Regions from separate parts of the Homo sapiens genome. Here all the other regions are linked to region 2. The links are contacts of gene promoters, found by promoter capture Hi-C in human tissues and cell types (Jung and others, 2019). All regions are on one chromosome and are shown on one strand. The core of a region is centred on a gene start or on the middle of the fragment in contact, and the rest is flanking DNA. Distances in the headings are between cores, read along the strand shown. Region 1 has its middle 19 kb from the start of MIR650. Region 2 holds the start of RAB36 (RAB36, member RAS oncogene family). Region 3 has its middle 10 kb from the start of LINC01659. Region 4 overlaps LOC105372948 (a long non-coding RNA gene). Region 5 has its middle 14 kb from the start of LINC01659.

Evidence for each region. The method cuts DNA at HindIII sites, captures the fragments that hold promoters and counts their contacts. A contact is called where the count stands out against the background at its distance.
Region 1: a contact is called between a fragment that was not itself captured here and the fragment with the promoter of RAB36 in region 2, in 2 of the 25 tissues and cell types used here (dorsolateral prefrontal cortex and lymphoblastoid cells).
Region 3: a contact is called between a fragment that was not itself captured here and the fragment with the promoter of RAB36 in region 2, in 5 of the 25 tissues and cell types used here (adrenal gland, dorsolateral prefrontal cortex, lymphoblastoid cells and 2 more).
Region 4: a fragment that was not itself captured here is called in contact with the fragment with the promoter of RAB36 in region 2 in 3 of the 25 tissues and cell types used here (aorta, esophagus and thymus).
Region 5: a contact is called between a fragment that was not itself captured here and the fragment with the promoter of RAB36 in region 2, in 1 of the 25 tissues and cell types used here (lymphoblastoid cells).

The regions. Positions count from the first base shown.
Region 1 is chr22:22,802,455-22,805,154 of GRCh38, forward strand. It overlaps IGL. Among named protein-coding and RNA genes, the nearest start is that of MIR650, 19 kb to the right of the region's middle. The HindIII fragment of the contact is 4,576 bases long and covers 1-2,700 here.
Region 2 is chr22:23,144,122-23,146,891 of GRCh38, forward strand. RAB36 (RAB36, member RAS oncogene family) reads left to right here and starts at 1,356. Exons shown (of 11, transcript NM_004914.5): 1 at 1,356-1,430; 2 at 2,484-2,564. The coding sequence starts at 2,496. It also overlaps a transcript of RSPH14 not described here. RefSeq lists a silencer at 1,109-1,178. The HindIII fragment of the contact is 15,551 bases long and covers 1-2,770 here.
Region 3 is chr22:23,442,665-23,445,364 of GRCh38, forward strand. No RefSeq gene overlaps it. Among named protein-coding and RNA genes, the nearest start is that of LINC01659, 10 kb to the left of the region's middle. The HindIII fragment of the contact is 6,266 bases long and covers 1-2,700 here.
Region 4 is chr22:22,875,671-22,878,370 of GRCh38, forward strand. The region is part of intron 2 of LOC105372948 (a long non-coding RNA gene); the gene reads right to left. LOC102724638 (a long non-coding RNA gene) reads right to left here. Exons shown (of 5, transcript XR_938046.4): 5 at 1,826-2,209. It also overlaps IGL. Among named protein-coding and RNA genes, the nearest start is that of MIR5571, 9.2 kb to the right of the region's middle. The HindIII fragment of the contact is 7,203 bases long and covers 1-2,700 here.
Region 5 is chr22:23,418,131-23,420,830 of GRCh38, forward strand. No RefSeq gene overlaps it. Among named protein-coding and RNA genes, the nearest start is that of LINC01659, 14 kb to the right of the region's middle. The HindIII fragment of the contact is 3,489 bases long and covers 1-2,700 here.

The DNA of each region.
Region 1 (2,700 bases), core at 191-2,690, 340 kb before region 2:
CTGAATATATTAAGGTCTCATAAGTAGTTGTTTTGCATAATCTAGTGATACATGGAGGATGGCATTCCTCCTGTGGACAGCAGGAGGCACTGTGGGTGTATTGTTTGGGGATGCTAATAGCTCCAAGTCCCCCAGTAGAGCTCACGTGCAAAGGGTGTGACTGATGTTTCCTTTCAGGTCCAGTCTTTTTGAGTACAATCCACTCTCCACTCCTGACACCCACTTGGCCCTTCTCCTGCCTTTGAGAAATGACTACCCTGAGGCCATCAGCTCCAGGGCTCAGCTATGAGCTCAGACAGACACGCTTGGGAATAGAGAACAGATTTGGATTCAATGCTCCTTCCTTCTTGAGCTTCAAGAAGAGGATAAGATAGGAGCTGGTTGTGTCCAGGCTCCACTGGGCAGCCTCGATCAGAGCTCTCGGAAGTGCCTCCCACCACGGCCTGTGTCTCCTTCTACCTCCTGCCCTTCATATTCTCCACAGGTTGGAGCATCCAGAGAATTCAGGGAAACCCTTTCACTGCTATTTCCCCCCAGCACTGGTCCTCAGTGGCATTCTTTCCAGTTCTCCTGTGCATTCAGCATCATTCATGAAATTATATGTTTCCAGGTCTCTGTGCTCTGTCTGTGCTGACCCAGCCCCCGTCTGCATCTGCCTGGCTGTGAGCCTCAGCCAAGGTCACCTACACCAGTGAATAGTATCAACAGAGACCAAGGAGGTCCCCCTAGTGTATAATGGAGGTTAAGAGTAATGGCAGCAACAGCAAGGGGAACAGGATCCCCAGTCACTTATTGGGCTCCAGCCCTGGGGCTGAATGCTACTTAATTATCTTCAACCTCCAATCTGAGGATGAGGCCGAGTATCACTGTGGAGAGAGCCACATGTTTGATGGTGAGGATGGGTGAGCCACAGTGACACAGACCAAGAAGTGAGGCCAAAACATACCCCCTCCCCTTCCTCTTCAAGGACTGAGAGTGAGAAGCCCTATGTCATCTCCATTGACCCTGAGAATGTTGACTCTCCCCCTTTCAAATTTCATCATCCCAGATGTCCTCCCTCAAGACACCCTTAGGCAGAGGCAGATGCAGGCCATGATTGAGGCCATTTTGATAAGTCATCAATCTGTTTCCACCACACCAGCCTGTGGGGACTACACTGGGAGAGACCAGAACAGCCCAGGCAGGAAAACGGCCCTGAGAGAGGGGTCGGGCTGAGATGACTGCATCCAGTGAGTGCCATTGCACCCTGCACCCCTGCCTCAGGGGACTGTCATGGGGCTCTGCCTGAGGAGGCAACATGGATCTTGACATGTCCCCAGCCATTTATGAGAACTGTAGTTGTGTGCATCCTCATTAACACTCAATATTATTGTCAGTTTTTGTTTAAAGCCACTCTAATAGATCTGTAGCGATTCTTATTAATTTTTTAACTTGTATTTTCTTAGCAACATCAGGCTGAGCATCTTTTCAGGTGCTTGTTATCTGTATATCTTCTTTGGTGAAAAGCTTAATCAAATCTTGGTCTATTTTTAAAATTCACTTTTCCCCATATTCCCCTTCATGCAGTATTTTTCAAAAATGGTGAATAAATGAAAGTTTTGCTGACATTTAAAAACTCACAGAATTGTTCACCACCAGACTGTTGCTATTAGAAGGGTAAAGGATATCCCTAGACAGAAGGAAAGTGATGTCACATTGAAATGTGAATTTACACAAAAAAGTGAAAACATCAGGCTGGGCCCAGTGGCTCATGTCTGTAATTTCAGCACTTTGGGAGACTGAGGCAGGAGTATTGCTTGAGCACAGGAGTTTGAGGCTGATGTGAGGTATGATCATACCACTGCAGTCCAGCCTGGGCAACATATTAAGAATCTGTCTCTATTAAAAAAAAAAAAAGGAAATAAAAAAATTAAATATCAGGTACAGTAACTACATAGATACTTGTGAAAACCTCTGTATTATGTTAATGCCAATAAAATACAGTTCACTGATCAAAGATAAATTAATAAAATACATTGTGATTTATAATGAAAATAAAGGCAAATTATATGACAAAGACAGCACAAAATCTGTGGTGGGTGAAGAACATGTTATCAAGGTCTCATATGGGAATGTGTAACAACTGCAGGTAGATTTTCATAAGATCTCTATATACATAAACCTTAAAGTAGTCATTAAATCAAACCTTTTGATCAAAAAAGAATTAGAGCGAATAAGCTACATTAGGGTTATCCACAGAAACAAAATTGGTAAGATATATATGTGTGTATAACATACATATGTGTATATACACATGCATGTATGTGAGCATATCGAGAGAGAGAGAGAAACTTAAAAGAAGAAATTGGTTCATAGGATTGTCCTGTCTGACAAGGATAAAAATCTCTTGGGCAGGCTGAAGGCTGGAAATGCAGGTAAGAGTTGATGTTGCGTCCTGAGCCTGAATTCAGCAATACAGGACTTAAGAAATCCTCACTCTTTGCTCTAAACACCTAAACACTTTCTTTTTTTTTTTTTTTTTTTTTGTGAGACAGAGTCTCACTCTGTCACCCAGGCTGGGTTACAGTGGTGTGATCTCAGCTCACTGCAATCGCCACCTCCCAGCTTCAAGTGATTCTTGTGCCTCATCCTCCCAGGTAGCTGGGATTACAGGTGTGCACCATCACATCCACCTAATTTTTGTATTTTTAGTAGAGACCG
Region 2 (2,770 bases), core at 106-2,605:
AGCTAAAGGAGGAGTTCAGGGTGATCTCTAGCTCCTGCCAAATCCCCAAATCCAAATTAGTAAGTGACCCCACAGCTTAATCTTCCCTTCTCCTAAATCCCATTGGCACACTCCCTTCCCCTAATTCTCTATTTACTTCTCTGCTTCCCGCAGTGGACTCCAATTTCCCTGAGGGTGGACACCATGTCCGTTCTCTTTCCTTGTCTCCCCAGTGCTAGGCATATACCAGGAAGCTTTCAGTACATGTAGGACAAATGAATAGTTAATGGACTTGAATCAAGCTTTACAGTATAAAAGCACTTTCACCATCTCAGGTGATCCATTGAAATAGATAGTTGCGTTTATTTTATAGTTGAGTAAACTGAGGTGCGGAAGGTGGAACAACTCACCTAAGTTCACCCCCTAAGCCTCAACCTTAGCAGTGAAACTCACTAAAAGACATTAAACAGAGCCAGGTGTGGTGGCCCTTGCCTGTAGTCCCAAGGACTGGGGAGGCTGAGGCGGGAGGATTCCTTGAGCCTAGGAGTTCGAGTCCAGCCTGGACAACATAGCAAGACTCCATCTCTTTAAAAAAAAAAAAAAAAGACATCAAACACCAGCCTCCAGCACACTTAGCTTTGAATTGAAGATGACTGAGTTAGATCTGTGTACCAAGGCTTCCATATTGTGATGCAGAAAAGTTAAGGAGCTGAATTAAGTAGGTTCTCAAACTGAACCCCGGACTTCGAAGCTGGTTCCACGGTTTTATAAGGGCCACAAGAGGCCATCTAGCCCAAAACAGCTAACTTTCCAAACCGAAACTAGTTCAGAGGAAATCACTGACTCAGGTCAGCTTTTTATTAAGGAAATTAATTTTGTACCGTGAGCTCTAGAAGCCAGGCATATGATATTCAGACAGCACTGGATTCAGAACTATGCAGACTAAGGTCAGTAGATGGTAGGCAGGTCTATCTTCTGCAGCTGCAGGGTGCTTGACTCCAATTAAACATCAATACCACATCAGGAGCTCTTATGCCATAACCGCCCAACCTCTCCCAGCCGAGCTGATCACCAGAACCTGCGCGAATCTCTCCACGGTCAGCCCCACCCAGGGCTCAGGCTCCGCCCCCGGGCCTCCATAGCCCCGCCCACCGCCCACCCATCCAGCACCGCCCTTGTTGTCATGGTGATCTCCGGCTCTCCAGGGTGTCCAGGAGTCTCTCTGCTGCCAGCCCCGCCCAGACTCCAGGCAGGTTCTCGTTGCTATGGTGATCGCCGGTGCAAGCTGGATGCTTGGACGCGCCGCTGCCAGTCCAACGCAGACCCCGCCCACGACGTCGACGATTCGTGTAGCCCGCAGGTCCCGCGTGGCTCTCGTTGCCATGGTGATCGCCGCCGCTGGCTCAGGCGGACCAGGCCGCGCGGAGCCCCAGCTTTCACAGCCATCGCTGGTGAGTCAGCTCGCCCACTCTGTCCGACCCTCCCGGTCACCCAACCCCGTGCTGGCACATCCCGAGGCCAGGGCCGCGAGGGCACAGCGTCCGCGCCCACTTCCCGCCCCTATAACTTGAAAGCGGCCTGCGGCCCCGGGGCGTCCTCATTTCCGGAGCGCAAACTCTGGGCCAGGCCCGCGCTGGTTGTGGAGGAGAGCCAGGTCAGATGCGGGAAGACAACCGGACTCCGCCAGGACCACCCCAGCCCAGCCTGGAGAGGAGTCCGGACAGAAAAAGGAGACAGAGGGGCTGTTGAGGAGGCTCGAGGAGTCAGAGGCCTGGTGAAGTGAGGGTTTTCAGGGAAAAGGCCTAGTTGGCTGAAAGTTAAGGCCCCCAGGCCCACCTAGAGCCTTCGTCCTTTGCAGACTGGGAGCAGGAGACCCCTCCCCACTCTACTTCCACTGCCTGAGCTGTGCCATGCCTCACAGCCCAGTAAGGTAAGCTCAGAGGGGAGCTCCTCCTTGGTAGACACCTGTCAAGGGGAGACCCAGGTCTTCTGACTCCCAGGCAGGGTGGGGCAGGCCTGGTTCCCCCATACCATGCTGCCTGCTGTATGCAGATTGAGAGAAATGGCCTCTGCCCCATATTCCTGACAGAGAGGGAAGCCTGGATCTGGTTTTATTTATAATTCTTGAGACAAGGTCTTACTCTATCACCCAGGCTGGAGTGCAGTGGCACCTTCACGGTTCACTGCACCCTTGACCTCCCAGGCTCAAGCATTCCTCCCACCTTCCTCCCAAGTAGCTGGGACTGCAGGCACAGGCCACCATGCCCTGCTAATTTTTTTGGTTTTTTTTTGTAGAGACTGAGGTTTCACTTTGTTGCCCAGGCTGGTCTCAACCTCCTGGGCCCAAGTGATCCTCCCACCTTGGCCTCCCAAAGTGCTGGGATTACAGGCATGAGCCACTGCACCCAGCCTGGATCTGATGAAAAGTTAGGTGGAAACTCATGGGTGAATCCCCAGGTATTTGCACAGCTCCTTAACTGTCTTTCTCCTGGTTGGGTCCACAGGACTGTGGAAGAATGAGGTCCTCCCTGACACCTTTGGGGCCCCCTGTGAGCCGCGACCGTGTCATCGCCAGCTTCCCTAAGGTAGAGAGTCATTACGTCTGCAGTGCTCTCCTGGCCCTGCAGCCACATCAGCTCTCCCCACTCTACACTCATGCCTAGAAGTAAAGCAGGTGAATCAAGGAGGTCTGTCCATTGTCAGATTTACCTTGAGGAGCTGGGAGACTGGTCACTGACTGCCCAAGGTGGGACCGCAAGTTAATGGTGACACTGGGCAGCAGTGTGGCCTG
Region 3 (2,700 bases), core at 2-2,501, 300 kb after region 2:
CTTAAAATCTGTGTGTATCCTGTATCCCACTGGAATGTGCTATATTGATGTCAAGTAGCTGACATTTTTAATAATGTTTGCAAAGCTTCTATATCCTTGCCAATTTTCTGTCTTCCTGTTCTATCAGTTATTGATAGATGAATATTGACATCTCTGACTATAATTACAGATTTCTCTATTCCTTCTTGCATTCCAGTTTTTGTTTCATATATAAATGGACGCTTTTATCATTATGAAATGACCTTTATTGCTAGTAATATTCTTTGCTCTGAAATCTACTTTGTCTGATACAGAGCTGCACTGTCAATAAGCAACCTTGGGTATATCGCGCATTTGGTTCCAGATCACTGTGATTAAACCAATATCACAATAAAGCAAGTCCCATGCATTTTGTTTCCCAGTGCATATAAAAGTTATGTTTATCCTATACTATAGTCTGTCAAGTGTACAATAGCATTATGTCTTTAAAAAACAATGTACATGTCCTGATTTTAAAAATACTTTATTGCTTAAAAATGCTAACGATCACCCAAACCTTTAGCCAGTTGTAATCTCTTTGCTGGTGGAGGTTCTTGCTTTGATGGTGATGGCTGCTGACAGATCAGGGTGGTGGTTGCTGAAGGTTGGGGTGGCTGTGACAGTTTCTTAAAAACACCAATGGGCTGGGTGCTGTGGCTCAAGCCTGTAATCCCAGCACTTTGGGAGGCTGAGGCAAATGGATCACTTGAGGCCAGTAGTTCGAGACCACCCTGGCCAACATGGTGAAAACCTGTCTCTACTACAAACACAAAAATTAGCCGGGCATGGTGGCACGTACCTGTAATCCCAGCTACTTGGGAGGCTGAGGCACGAGAATCGCTTGAACCTGGGAGGTGGAGGTTGCAGTGAGCTGAGATCGTGCCACTGCACTCCAGCCTGGGCAACAGAGCACGACTCCATCCCCCCACCAAAAAAAAAAAAAAAAAAAAAACAGCAATGAAGCTGGCCACATTGATTGACTCTTCCTTTCATGAAAGATTTCTCTGTAGCATGCAATGCTCTCTAAAACCATTTTACCTACAGTAGAACTTCTTTCTATCTTGGAGCCAATCCTCTCAACCCCTCAAACTGCTTTATCAACTAAGTTGATGTACTTTGCTGTCATTTTTCAACAATGTTCACAGCATTTTCACCAGGAGCAGATTCCATCTCAAGAAACCACTTTCTTTGTTCATTCATAAGAAGCAGCTCCTCATCCATTCAAGCTTGATCATGAGATTGCAGCAATTTAGTCACATCTTCAGGCTCTGCTTCTAATTCTAATTCTCTTGCTATTTTCACCACATCTGTCCATCTTCCTCCACTGACCTCTTCTTGAACCAAGTCATCCAGGAGGGTTGGAACCAACTTCTGCAAACTCCTGTTAATGGTGATACTTTGACCTCCTCTCATAAATCACTGATGTTCTTAATGGCATCTAGAATGACAGCTCCTTTCCGGAAGGTTTTCAGTTGTCTTTGCCCAGATTCATTAGAGGAAGCACTCTGTGACAACTATAGCCTTACAAAATGTATTTCTTAAATAATAACACTTGAAAGTCAATTGTCCCTTGATCTAGGGACCACAGGATGGATGCTGTGTTAGCAGTCATAGAAACAACGTTCATCTCCATCAGAGCCCAGTAACTAGTTGCATTGTCAGTGAGCAATAATATTTTGAAAGGAATTTTGTTTTCTGAGCAGGAGGTCTCAACAGTGGGCTTAAAATATTCAGTGCACTGTGCTACGTTTGAACAGATGTGCTGTCATCCAGGCTTCGTTGTTCCACTGATAGAGCACAGACAGAGAAGACTTAGCATCATTCTTAAGGGCCCCAAGAGCTCATTTACCATCTCCATATTAGCAGTAAGCCTGTTCTGCTTTCTTAACATTCATGTGTTCGCTGGAATAGCCCTTGTGATTTCCTTTACGAACTTCTCCTTTGCAGGCTAGCTGTGTGGTGCAAGAGACCTAGCTTTTGGCCTCAGTTTTCAACATGCCTTCCTCACTAAACTTAATTATCTCTAGCTTTTGATTTAAAGTGAGAGACATGTGAGTCTTCTTTCACTTGAACACCTAGAAGCCATTCTAGGGTTATTAATGGGCCTGGTTTCAATATTGTTGTGATGGTCGTGTCTCAGGGAATGGGGAGGCCTAAGGAGAAGGAGAGAGATGGGGGATGGCTGGTCAGTGGAGCAGTCAGAACACACACATTTATCAGTTAAGTTTGCTATCTTATGGGCACTGTTTGTGGAGCTCCGAGACCATTACAATGGTGACATCAAAGATCACAGATGACAGACTACCATAAAAGATATACTAATAATGAAAAAGTTGGAAATATATATGACACAGACATGAAGTGAATCCACGCTTTTGGAAAAATAGTGCCAATAGACTTGCCAGACACAGACCTTAAATTTGTAAAAAATGCAGTGTCTGTGAGGCACAGTCAGGCAACGGATGAAGCAAGGTGTGCTCATGTGAACACGGCGAAATGTGAGCACACTGTATCTGCTTCACGTTACTTTTAATCTACTGCGTCTTCATAGTTAAAATGTGCTTCTTAAAAGCAGGATATAGCTGAGTCTTAAATGTGCATAAAATCTGACATTCTCTGCCTTTTCACTGGGCCATTTACATTTAAATTGATTACTACTTTGATTAGATAAGTCTATCATCT
Region 4 (2,700 bases), core at 177-2,676, 270 kb before region 2:
GTAAGAGTTGATGTTGCAGTCCTGCATCCAAATTTAGCAAGGCAGCACTTCAGGAAACCTCCACATTTGTTCTAAAAACATTCAGCTCACTAAAGAGTCCCACCCACATTGTGAAGAGAAATCTGCTTATACAAAGTTTACTAATTAAAATGTTCATCACATCTGAAAGTTATCTTCATGTCAACTCCTATACTGGTATTTGATAAAATCAATCTGGTGCATAGCCTACCCAATCTAACACTTAAAATTAACTATCACTTAACCCAGCAAGGAAATAAAAAGATAATTTAAAAAATCAATCAAAAAAGGAGACAGCAAAAGGGAAAGAAAACTAACGAACATATGGGACAAATATAAAATAAAGAGCAAGAAGATCCTTCCAGCTCAGCCTACTGAGTTTCTGGGACTACAGGAAGGTTTGTAGTTCTCCTTGAAGAGGTCCTTCACATCCCTTGTAAGTTAGATTCCTAGGTATTTTATTCTCTTTGAAGCAGTTGTGAATGAGAGTTCACTCATGATTTGGCTCTTTGTCTGTCTGTTGTTGGTGTATAAGAATGCTTGTGATTTTTGTACATTGATGTTGTATCCTGAGATTTTGCTGAAGTTGCTTATCAGCTTAAGGAGATTTTGGGCTGAGACAATGGGGTTTTCTAGATATACAATCATGTTGTCTGCAAACAGGGACAATTTGACTTCCTCTTTTTCTAACTGAATACCCTTTATTTCTTTCTCCTGCCTGATTGCCCTGGCCAGAACTTCCAACACTATATTGAATAGGAGTGGTGAGAGAGGGCATCCCTGTCTTGTGTCAGTTTTCAAAGGGAATGCTTCCAGTTTTTGCCCATTCAGTATGATATTGGCTGTGGGTTTGTCGTAGATAGCTCTTATTATTTTGAGATACGTCCCATCAATACCTAATTTATTGAGAGTTTTTAGCATGAAGTGTTGTTGAATTTTGTCAAAGGCCTTTTCTGCATCTATTGCGATAATCATGTGGTTTTTGTCTTTGGTTCTGTTTATATGCTGGCCACTTCTCAAAAGAAGACATTTATGCAGCCAAAAAACACATGAAAAAATGCTCACCATCACTGGCCAACAGAGAAATGCAAATCAAAGCCACAATGAGATACCATCTCACACCAGTTAGAATGGCGATCATTAAAAAGTCAGGAAACAACAGGTGCTGGACAGGATGTGGAGAAATAGGAACACTTTTACACTGTTGGTGGGACTGTAAACTAGTTCAACCATTGTGGAAGTCAGTGTGGCGATTCCTCAGGGATCTAGAACTAAAAATACCATTTGACCCAGCCATCCCATTACTGGGTATATACCCAAACGACTATAAATCATGCTGCTGTAAAGACACATGCACATGTATGTTTATTGTGGCATTATTCACAATAGCAAAGACTTGGAACCAACCCAAATGTCCAACAATGATAGACTGGATTAAGAAAATGTGGCACATATACACCATGGAATACTATGCAGCCATAAAAAATGATGAGTTCATGTCCTTTGTAGGGACATGGATGAAATTGGAAATCATCATTCTCAGTAAACTATCGCAAGAACAAAAAACCAAACACCGCATATTCTCACTCATAGGTGGGAATTGAACAATGAGAACACATGGACACAGGAAGGGGAACATCACACTCTGGGGACTGTTGTGGGGTGGGGGGAGGGGCGAGGGATAGCATTGGGAGATATATCTAATGCTAGATGACGAGTTAGTGGGTGCAGCGCACCAGCATGGCACATGTATACATATGTAACTAACCTGCACATTGTGCACATGTACCCTAAAACTTAAAGTATAATAATAATAAATTAAAAAAAAAAAAGAAAAGAAAATGTCTCTAGACAGCTTGGTTCCTGAGCTGGGAATCAACCGTCTTTTCTCTCCCTTTCAACCCAGAGTGTGGCAGGCGCGCCCCCTACAGGCAGCTAAAAGAGCTGACTGAGATGCCGTCTCCATAGGGAGGGATTTGGGCTGAGAATTTGGGCTGAGGATTTTCCCATGCCCTCCCTGGCAGGCTGGTCCCAGGACACTCAGAAGACTTACTGTTACAGGTCCAGAGCATTTCTCGTCTTCCTTTTCTCTCTCCTTGCCAAGTGACCTTGGAATTGTTCCTCCCCATCTCAGCCCCTTCCCTTTTGTGTTAAGTGCAGTTTGCAGATTTTGTGTTCCTAGGTCCTGTATCTGTAGAATTTTAGGGAAAGCAGTGCTGGTCACCCACATGGAATTCAAGACAGCGAGCCCAGGACCAGAAACACAGACAGCAGTGGGGGTCCCCACAGAGCAGCATGGTGGGCACCAGGTGGAGGTAAGAAACCAGGAACCACTCCCCTGAGTGTCTTCAGCCCCAGGTGAACTAGGGAGGGGTCAGTGGGCTGGGCTCAACCCACCGGGGACTCTCCTGTCACTGCCCCAGCAGCACCATCCTGGAAGCCCCTATATGTGCTAAGCAGCTGCCAAAGAACTTGATTAATTACCTGTAAATTTCCCTTCACCACACCTGACCACACATGACTCCTGCCCCCAAATTACTAATTTATTAAAATGGCACAATTAGCCGAAATGGCCTGAATCCAGGACCCCTTTCAGGTTTGCCGCTGACCTCTCAGGTCCTCACACATGCCAGACTCTTTCCACAGGGGCCTGACTCCACTGTTTCCAACACAAATCCCAGG
Region 5 (2,700 bases), core at 126-2,625, 270 kb after region 2:
ACTGTACCCTGACATCCATTCGACCAGGAGAATAAACAAGAAAAGCCCTCAAGGACATGCCTTTGCTCATGCTGTTCTCTGCCTGTCAGGAAGCCCTTCCTGCCTTCCACCGCTAAGCCTGCCGCTGCTTACCTTGCCCTTGCAGTCAGGGCAAGGCTCTGGGAATGCTCCCGGCTCCCTCTGCTCTGCTCCCACAGCTCCCTATACTTACCCTCATCACAGCTCTTACCACACAGCACTGAAATCATCTATTTGTGCGTCTGTCTCGCCAGCTGCAGCAAGATCCCAGAGGGCAAGGAACACATCTTACTTATCTCCCATCACCCATACAGAACCCAGTACAACAGCTCATCAACACTGAACGCAACCCCAGCCTGGCCAGGCTGGCCTCCTTGCTGCCCCTGAATACATGCTGCTCACGCTCAACTCTGAGCCTGCGCTCACCCCAGCACCCCCACATCTCACTTAAGACAATCCGACCATGGCCTGGGCACAGTTCAAATTGCATTTCCTCCCTAGGCCCACAGAAGTCAATAGGGTCGCAGGTTCAAACCCCCAGCTCCTCTCACCCATGTGCCGAGTGCCCTTGCACAAGATGCTTCTGTCTCTGGGTTCTCATCGTAAAGAGGGAATGACTCAGTATCCCCTAACTTGCAGGGCTGACAACGCATATAAAGCTTCTGAACCGACACTTGGCATATAATAGATTTTTAAGAACAGCACACTTGTTTTCCCCAATCACACTGTCTATGCCATCTGGGTGTTTCATCCCTTTTCTTCCCCGTAACTGTTGTGTATATTACCCTGGCTCTCCTGAGGCAGGTTTGTCATGAGCAGAGACACGGTCGTAGTATACTTCCATGAAGCCGCCCCTGCCCTAAAACCCAGGACAACACAACACGTGGAGGAAGGGACCAAAGGATACAACTTTAATAAATAAGTTATTTCAGGTTATTTAGGTTTAAAGAATTGCTAATAAAAAAAAATGCAAAGCCCCAGGGGATCAGGAGTGAGCTAGAGAGCAGGCTTTTGCAGATGTTTTCATACTGATGACAAAGGCAGTTAGAGAGCGGGAGCAAGTGGGTTGAGGAGGGGACCAGCAAGATAGGAAAGAACTCCCCCTTGGAGGTGGTACTGTTCATTCTCACCCATCCAAACACTGCAAAGAAACCTGTGCTGACTCACTGGACAGTCTGGACCCAGCATCCTCCCCTGAAGACTGTCTCTGGATGACAGGAAGCCCCAAGCCTCAGAATTCCATTCCAAGTTTCATGAGCACTAGTCAGTGACAGTACCAGCTGATGTGTGGGGTGCTCACTGGGTGCTTACCACATGCCTGGGAAGATTCTAAATGCTTACGACCATACAAGGTTAGGAGGACTGTTACGCCCTTCATTGCACAGATGAGGAAACTGAGTCTCGGGGGGGATAAGGAACACACTCCCGGTCACACACTCTAGTAACCGGTATAGTACAGCACAGTCTGGTTCCAGAGTCCAAGCTCTTAACCACAACGCAGTTTGAGTGTCTTACTCTGATTTAGCTCCGCCATTTACCAGGTGAGAGATCTCAGGCAAGTCATCTAACCTCACTGCGCCTCATCTTTCAAGTGGGCCTCATATGGGTAACTTTCTAAGACTGTCATGAGGATTGAAGGCAATCATGCCATGACACATATTATGAAGCGGACTCCTGAGAAATCAGTTCCCTCCCACTTTTCCCATATCCCAATATAAGTGAGGTTTTTAGCCAAACCCCTTGACCTCTTTTACTACTAGGAATGATCTACATGCCCTGCTGGATTTTCCTGCCTACTGCCTATGCCTAAGCATTTGGACCTCATAAAAACTTACAAAAATGGCCTGGAGACAAGCAAGAAAGGAAAGCAACTGCACACAGAACTGAGTGGGGCAGCACACCAGAGATGGCCCAGACGGCTCCTGGTGTGCAGATGAATACTGCATGAGCAGAGGTCGGGCCAGCCAGGCCCTGCCAGGACACGCCACAACTGACAGTCCGTGACAGCACCTAGATCCATGTACTGCACCAACAGGCCCAGATGACAGGCCTAGGAGGCTGTAGGCAGAGCCAGGAGCACCTGTGCCTCTGAGCCCGCATGAGTATAAGTGCTGTAGGGGGACAAAGAGGGGCAGGCAGGTTAATGTGACAGGCAGTCATTCCCACCAATGGTGGGATATCAGACTGCCTAAAATGTTGTCTATAGCAAGGTAACTGTTTAAATTCCTATAGAAGGAATTCTGTTGCAAAATTCCTTTACTGTGAAGAATTTAATTTCAAGCCAAGAAGTACAGATACACACTAGTTTATCTTGAAGGTAAATCCACATTTCCATACATCAAGTTTGCTTGAAGGGTAAGAGATACCTTTAAGCCATGAACCCTTCCCCTGGGCTGGTGGTCATGCACAGAGGGAACCTGTCACTAGCAGCATGTAAAAGTGTCCTTCGGGGCCAGGTGCAGTGGCTCACACCTGTAATCCCAGCACTTTGGGAGGTTGAGGTGGGCAGATCACAAGGTCAGGAGTTCGAGGCCAGCCTGGCCAACACAGTGAAACCCCGTCTCTACTGAAAATACAAAAAATTAGCCGGGCATGGTGGTGCGTGCCTGTAGTCCCAGGTACTTGGGAGGCTGAGGCAGAAGAATTGCTTGAACCTGGCAGGTGGAGGTTGCAGTGAGCCGA